Regions from separate parts of the Homo sapiens genome. Here region 1 is linked to region 2. Evidence: promoter capture Hi-C in 16 types of primary human blood cells and fetal thymus (Javierre and others, 2016). All regions are on one chromosome and are shown on one strand. The core of a region is centred on a gene start or on the middle of the fragment in contact, and the rest is flanking DNA. Distances in the headings are between cores, read along the strand shown. Region 1 holds the start of ARPC5 (actin related protein 2/3 complex subunit 5). Region 2 holds the start of EDEM3 (ER degradation enhancing alpha-mannosidase like protein 3).

Region 1 (3,986 bases), core at 1,313-3,812, 1.1 Mb before region 2:
TATGACTTGATTTACATATAAAAAGAAAATTACTTTGGTCACTATGTTCAATACTGGAAATTCAATGTGTTGGTTTCCAGGATGTTAATCAAAGGCAAAATATCAAAAGCAAAATAGAACATTAGACTTTTTTTTAATAAAGCAAAGACTGTTTCACCCTTGGTTCTAACTATCAAGTGAACACCTTGATAGTCTTTCATTTCCCAGTGAGATACATATGCAAACATTACCTAGAGTGGTGTTAAAGAAATCCTAAAATATATATCAGAATTATTAGTCCCCCAAATGAAATAACCTATTATCAACCAAAATATGTCTTTTCCTGTGATTCTAATTGAAAAAATAAAGACCAAACTTTTGCTAGAACCATATTCTGTATTATCTGAAATGCTGGTAGAACATGCTGGCAGATTAGCAATCTGAATGATACACATTAGCAATCTCTCAATATTGATGAAAAGAGGCATCACAGAAGATGTAATAATTCATATGTCCCTTAGGTGGCAGCTTAATTTTTTGCTTTAGATATTTTCTCTCATATTTCACAAAGGTTATTCAAACTGTGTTAGACCATACCTATTAAATTCAGGCTCTCTTTGAAAGCACTAGTGAGTTAGCAAGCATGAGAAACAGAAGGCCAATCAGACTGTCAGAATGTACAAACATTCCCCTAAAAGGAAAACCACAGAGTTCACTTGTTCCTCCAACTCTAGTACCCCACCACTAGGGCTGTCTTTCCTGGCTGTATGTAACGGTAAGAAGAGACAGTATCTTTATATTTTAAGATGAACTGATCAAAAAGCAGATCCACTGATATGGATACAGCAGTACCATTTAAAAGTCACCACAAATTACCTAAAATACACTGGGGTTTCATAAAACACCATCTATCCATCACAAATAATGTTTTTAGGAAGCATGTTCACCATTTATTTTCTAAAGAAAAAGTTCTTACACAAAATCTCTGGTTGACAAGCTGTTATTTTCAAGGCTGCAGGGATTTCTAGAGAAGCATGCCTGATGTAGATTAGCTCATTTTTTATAACTCCAAGCACTTAAGTATTTAAATAATGCAAAAGAGCAACAGCTAATTAATTGTGAAAGTTGTGGCAAAGCACTATCTATATATTGATAAATGTCTAATGCTCTATTTAGGTGCCTTTAAAAAAGGATATTGTTGCCATTAAATATTTTCACTCTCATATTTCCCCACTATAACAGGACATTGTTGAGAGTCTTCCTTATGAATACACCCAAGAATTAGAAATGCATACAAATTCAGTGTCTGAGATTTTCTAAAACTACAGCTTCGGTTTTTTTGCAACATTTACATTTTTCTAAAAAAGATGTAATGCAAATGCGAAGCCAAAGTTATGAATATTCAAATATGCAAAAACAGAAACCGGGAACTGACTGCCATATTTTAACTAAAATGGAAACAATTTTAGGATTACAAAAATGATTCTGCTTTATACGAATGACTCATCTTCTATCTTATTCATTGGGGTTTATTTTAAATATTTCCAAGGATTCTCCACACGCATTCCCCGTTGTTTTTTCTATTGTCCTTTTCTTAGCAGGTAAAAGGCTCCAAGCTTCCTTCTAGGAGTTTTGTATTTTTTGTATTCATTCCCCTCCCCCAGTTAACAAATTCTGTACAATGTATATTTTGCCAAATCCCCTTCTTCTTCTTCTTTTTTTTTTTTTTTTAAAAAGGCCAATGGGCTGAAAGCACAGGGACCCTCAATTTTCGAACAGTCCCATCTCCCCCCGCCCCCCGGTAAGGAATAAACTACCTTAACGCTACCAATAACAAAAACACAACAAAAAACAAAACCACTAAGGAAAGATGCAGGTTCCCCACAATCAGAAATTTCTGGAGCTAATGTGACCCCAGGAAATCAGAGTTCTAGGAAGAAAAACTAAGGCGCTCGGCACCAGCCTTCCCCACCAGCCGGGGCCGCCTTCCCCAGCGCCGCGAGGGCGCGGCCGGCGGGACCAGTTCCCGAGGCAGGCAGGCACTCGGGTGCAACCTGAGGAATCTGGGGGCGTGGAAGGCGCGCGGGGGAGGGCAGGCTTCCAAGAGTGGGACCCTCGCGTCTCCTGCCGACTGGGTAGGAAACGGGGGCTTCCCCCTTGCCCTCTCAGAGCGGGCGATCCCAAAGAGACAGGTTAAGCCGCAGGTTGAGAGGGCAGCTCCGCGCCGGTGCCCCGCGGATCCTGCAGGCTCCCGGGTCCCAGGAGAAGGGCGGGCTGGGCTGGGCTGGGGTGGGGAGGGCGGTGAATGCAAGGATATTGCCGCAGGCAGGAGTCCACCTCGCCCTCGTCGGGCCCGGCCTGGCCGTCGCCCCCATCTTCTTCGTCCACGAACTTGTTCTCGTCATATTCATCCACGTCCACCTTCCGGAAGCGGGCCGACGACACTGTGTTCTTCGACATCCCAATCCCGACCAGCGGCAAAGGCCTCTTCTTGGCGCTGCCTCTACCTCAGCAAGCCCAGCCCAGCAACCCACTACCCGGCGCCTGATTCACTTCCCTCTTCCGCTCTGAGGCGTCGCCGACTGCCGCGGCTCGGACCGTTCTGGGCCTGCGCGCTAGCCCCGTTTCTTCCTCCTCAGGTTCGCGCTCCCTTGGCGCCTCCCACGCTGCCCCTGCTCTTCCACGGAGAGCGCGCGCGAGGGAAGGAGCGCGCAGGACACAGCGCGCAGGCGCGGGCTCTCCGCAGGCAAGGGGCGGGGCTGGGCGAAGGAGGCGGGGGCGAGAGGGAGGGCCAAAAGCTGGACCGCGGGCAGAGGTAAGAAGCGATTGGTCGTCCGATTGCGTCACGTGATTCTCGGTGGGGGGGTTCCCATAGAAACGCTTTTCTGCGGTCCAGTCTAGGGGGTCTCAGATTGGCGGGGATGGGCAGCAGCGGCAGGTGGCCTTGGCTTTTGCTGCAGCCGTCAACGACCTATCATCGGGGTCCTGCGTAAGGTCCGGCTGGCTGGGACTTGGCTGTGGGTGGGATGGACTGGCTGCCGGACCGAGTGCCCTGCAGTTGGTAGGAGTATGAGGCAGAGTGATGCACACCCGGGCGCCCAGCATCGTTCTAATTGCCGGAGACATTGCCTCAGACTGTGCGCTGCTAGAGGCTGCGTTCCTGAGCAGGAAGCCCGTTTCCTGGGATTGGAACTACCCTTCTTGGCCAGCGGGAAGTCCCCAAGGACGGAGTCGAAAGGTCAAATCTTATCTGTCAGTGCTGTGTGACAGCATCGCAACGGGATCTGCAGAACCTGAACTCGGTATCAAATCTATTGGGAGGGAGGGGAACGTGTCCGGGCAGGCGCTGGGGTCGGGTGGCAAAACTGGGGTGAATTTGTAGAATTTGGGAAAGGGTCATTGACATCTTAAAATAGGTGGTCGTTTGGAGCAAGAATGCTCGAAAGGGGTGAGGGTAGGTTAGGCTCTCTAGTGCTGGGGGAAAACAAAATGTGGAAGGATTGGTGGAAACCAGACCTTTAAGATTTATATTATGATTTGAGATTTATATGATTCCATCTAGGCCAGATTTAAAAAAATATTTGACATCCCCATTTCTGGAATGTAGGAGATAAAGGCACTAAGACGAAGGAAATGGTAGTTGTGCTGTGTGTATTACACTGAAGAACAAATATTTGCAGGATAAAATTAATTTGGACATTTGGCTGGACACTGCTCGGTATGGGTCCAGTTTAGTTGGACCTCGAGCAGAAGACTGGCTGTTGCCCTGTTGTGTACCACAATCTTTGGTTTCCAGTGCTGTGTTGAAAAGAGCACTAGGCTTAGAATCAGAAAACTCAGGCTTAAGTGTTGACTCTTCCACTCATAATGTTTGAACGAGACATGTCACTTAAAATTCTGTCTCAGATTCCTCATCACTGAAATGGAGCTAATAATGTGCACTTTACAAGATTGTTCTTAGGATTATATATCACGAAAGTGTTTCCAAGCTCTAAAATTCTACATAA
Region 2 (3,979 bases), core at 569-3,068:
CTTCAGCTTTTTTCCATCAAGTGACCTTTATTGCTATTTAGAAACGAATACAAGACTCTTTGCAATGATTTAAAGTACATAAAGTAAGACCTGATGGTTCCACCACCCCTCCAGCCTAACCCCATGAGATAATCTTCGTTCCACTTTTTTTCTGAGCTCAGATTTTTTTTTTCTTTTTTAAAAAAAACATGGGATGATACTATACATATTATTCTACAACTTGCATTTTTTTTTGTTTTGGAAATATATTCTGGATAGGCTTCCAGTGACGTACTTCCTTCTTCTTAATGTCTCAATATTATTCCATAATATGAACGTACCCTATTGAACCATTTCCTCCAAGGAAGAGCTGTTCTTTCAAAATGCACTTTTTTTTTTTTTTTTCGAGACAGAGTTTCGCTCTTGTTGCCCAGGCTGGATCTATCTCTGCATTAAGAGTGCTTTTATTTTCTTAGGGTAGATTCTCAGAAATAGAACTGATGAATCAAAGTGTGCACAATTTAAATTTTAGTAGATACTACCAATAAGTTACAGCAATTTACACTCTCACTAAGCCTTTTTTTTCTATTCCTTAACTAACCAGAACCGTATCCTTGTGTTTTGTATTATATTTACTAATCTGATGGGCAAAAACCAGCTAGCTCCTCGTTTTAATCTGCATCTCCTACGTTTATGGAGGTTGAGTAACTTTTCATGTTTATTTACCACTTCCATTTCCTCTTCTGGCTTAACCGTTCATGCCTTTCTCCCATTTCCTACTGGTTCTTCGCTTTTTTCTTATTCATGTGTAGGACCTCGTGTATGTATTACTCTGAATTAAATGGTGTAAATAGAATTGATAATTTTAACACACTTCCAAGACGGATAAAAACTACTGAATAGGTATACTTGAGACTTTTGAATAATTTCCCCCCAAACATTCTATTATGAAAATACAGTGCAAGAAAACACTGCAAGGAAATAGTAAAATGTGTAAAGTTCAAGTTCCAATGAACGCCCCCTTTTCCGTAACAGGTGTAAACATCATTTCCTTAACTACTGTGAGATCAGCAACATTTTCCCAGTTGGAAGCTCACTTGCGCGAGAAAGCTAACCATGCTTCGGTCGACAGGCAGCCAACCGCAGAACTCCAGCGCGCAGCGATGCGGGCTGTAGCCCCCTTCTTGGGCCACTGACATGGCAGCCGCGTTGACACACCGCGCCTGGCTTCAAGGAGCCTGCACATGTCACCGGCGGCCAGGGCGACACCCCGTCAGCTCCCCCGAGGTCAGGTCGCGGGCGGCGGTTCCCACCTCCCCGGACCCTGTCCACCCCTCTAGGGTTCTCGCGCGGGAAGAGCCGTTCCAATCGCGACAGGAGAGGCCACTACGCGACCGGGTCGCAATGACAGGCACCCCTCCTGTTGTCAGCCTCACCGAGAAACCCACCCCAGGCTGCCAGCACCCTTACCCAAGCTTCTGTTTCTCCTCCCTACTCATGGGCTCGGCCCCCGCCGTCCACACGGAGGTGGCCGACACCAGGCAGAACGCGGCCGTCGCCGCCACTAGTCTCCATCGCGCTCGCTGGGGAACCGGGGACCCACAGCCCCGGCCGCCGGCTTCGCTCATGGCCCCGCGGTTCCGCGCACGCGCAGCTGCTACGCCCGGCCGGTGAGACACATTGCTGGACGCTGGTGGCCAGGGGGCTGCTAGCCGTGCCGAGACGGGGCGGGATGCGGAGTAACACGGACGGCCGCCGGCGCCAAACTGTTTCCCGAAGCCACCAAGCCGGTCCCCAGCGCCAGCGCTGCCACCGCCCTCCGCCCTCAGTATCCCGGAGCGCCTCCCCCAGCTTTCCGGTGTCGTAGTCTAGGAAACCGCCTCCCCAACGTTACTTCCGGGTAGGGCCGAAGCCGTAGAGCCTCAGGACCAATGGAGACCTCATGGGAGAGGGGCTGTCTCCGGCGACTGGAGAGGGCATTGGCCAGGAGAAGTGAGACGTGGACAAAAGGCGGGACTGGGAAGGGATCTCTCGCTTCGACCCGCCTCCGACCCGCGGAGTTGCCCCCTGAGGACTACCAGTCCCAGTGTGCACTGCTTCTTCCCCGGCTCTCCCGCGAGCCGACTCGGAGCCGTGTCTCTCGCTTCTACCCGGGGTAGGCGCGCTGCACCCTGGGACTTGCGGTCCTCCGAGGTCGCCAGTGGTTGCTGGGATCCCACCTCCCCCTTTCCTCGGCGCCCTACAGTCAACCCTGTCTCGGTGGGCTGCGGAGTCCCGGGAAACCCGTCAGCTGTTTATCTCTCTTCCTCAGAAAGTTGTTTCCCAGAGAGCTGGCTGAATGAGGCGCACTGTCCCCATGTCAGTGCTGCTGCGTTAGGGAATAGTGTTGGAGTAGTCGTCTACCCTCAGGGAAATTCCAAAACACAGTAACAGCAAAATGAATTGAGCCTTTGAAGGCATTGCGCTAAGGTTTTTACTCGCAATCATCTCATGCACTCTTCTCAACTCTGATAGAGTAAGTACCACCATCCCCCTTTTGCAGACGAGAAAACAGAGGCTTAGAAAAGTTGGTTAACAAGAGCTCGTCACACTGCTGTATTAGAATCCATCCAGCCTCTGATTCGGAAGCCCTTGCATTTAACCACCGCGCAGTACTACAAGGATGAAGGAGCACGTGGGTCCTCGTACATGATTAATAATAGTTACCTCAAAAGCTCAATGTAAGGAGAGCTGTGTGGGCTGCAAAGAAGGTTTAATGAAGGAGATTGGAACTTGCAATGAATTTTGATGACCGAGTCCCAGGTTAACTATTGGTAAAATGACACATCGGTTCCTCTTGAAAAACCACATTGTTTTTCTAGTGTGGTCATTCAATAGGTGCGGAGTTTAGGAGCTTCGATGTGATCTCTGTGACCACAGTAAATTACTTACGTGTCCTTTAAGCAGTATTCGGCGGTCTTTCTGGAAACGTTTCTTCCTTGACTTTTATCACCTTACCTCTTACCTCTTAACCTCTTACCTCTTCTCTGGCTGACCCGTTTTCCTTCATTCTCTCGCTACTTTATATTAAAATACAGGTGTTCCCTTAAGGTTTTCTTTTTGTCCTTTTTCTCTCTGTACTCTAATTATTCCTTGGTGATTTCTTCTCATAAGGATTCAGCCAACATATCTCTGTGGTTGATTTCTAAATCAATATCTGTCCTGATCATTAGACCCACATTTCCACCTCCCTAATAGAAATGTCCTAATGTCTAGCCCAAGGGTAGCTCAAACGTAAGATGTTTTCTGATTCAAATTAATGCATCGGAATCATTGTCAACTCATCTTTAGCCTTCGGGGTCCACGTGCAATTAATTACCAAATTATATAGATTTTACCTCTTCTATCTTTCAGATTATTACCTTTCTTTCTATTCCCACTTTTGCTCCATTCAAGCTTCCATTACCTCTCTCCTAAACTATTGCAGTGTCTCAATAAATGTTAAATATACTTGCTTCCTTATTCCTGCAGTTTTCTTATCTATAAAGTGGGAATAATATGGTCCTTTTATCCAGTAGTCCCCAACTTTTTTGGCACCAGGGACCACTTTTGTGGAAGGCAATTTTTCCACAGGGTGGGGGAGACACCGTTCCATCTCAGATCTTCAGGTATTAGATTCTCATAAGGAGCGTGCAACCTAGATCCCTCGCATGTGCAGTGCACAATAGGGTTCATGCTCCTATGAGACTCTGACGCAGTTGATCTGACAGGAGGTGGAGCTCAGGTGGTAATGCTTGCTCGCCTGCTGCTCCTGAGAGGCAACTGACTGGTACCAGTCCACTGCCCCAGGCTTGGGGATCCTTGCTTTTATCTACTAACGTGGATGCTGTGAAAACACATGAAGTCATTTCTGTACAATATTTAATATCCTTTATTTTTTTGCATGGATCTCCAATCCTACATTGGTTCCATCCTAGTCCTCTTTGGCAGCATTAATGTTGAAGTTACCGATTATCTCCCT

The links. Contacts are between HindIII fragments. The CHiCAGO score rates a contact against its expected background, and 5 or more counts as called.
Region 1: the fragment with the promoter of ARPC5 here is called in contact with the fragment with the promoter of EDEM3 in region 2 in 4 of 17 cell types (naive CD8 T cells, fetal thymus, activated CD4 T cells and 1 more); the score reaches 6.8 in naive CD8 T cells.

What each region holds. Positions count from the first base shown.
Region 1 is chr1:183,633,221-183,637,206 of GRCh38, forward strand. It overlaps ARPC5 (actin related protein 2/3 complex subunit 5), which reads right to left and starts at 2,563. Exons shown (of 4, transcript NM_005717.4): 1 at 2,297-2,563. The coding sequence starts at 2,439. It also overlaps a transcript of RGL1 not described here. RefSeq lists enhancers at 1,759-2,259, 2,257-2,536 and silencers at 1,847-2,065, 2,017-2,076, 2,157-2,206, 2,687-2,846. The HindIII fragment of the contact is 3,712 bases long and covers 1,594-3,986 here.
Region 2 is chr1:184,753,040-184,757,018 of GRCh38, forward strand. It overlaps EDEM3 (ER degradation enhancing alpha-mannosidase like protein 3), which reads right to left and starts at 1,819. Exons shown (of 20, transcript NM_025191.4): 1 at 1,450-1,819. The coding sequence starts at 1,607. LOC105371649 (a long non-coding RNA gene) reads left to right here and starts at 2,135. Exons shown (of 3, transcript XR_922357.4): 1 at 2,135-2,494. RefSeq lists enhancers at 1,403-1,502, 1,973-2,072. The HindIII fragment of the contact is 1,960 bases long and covers 1,453-3,412 here.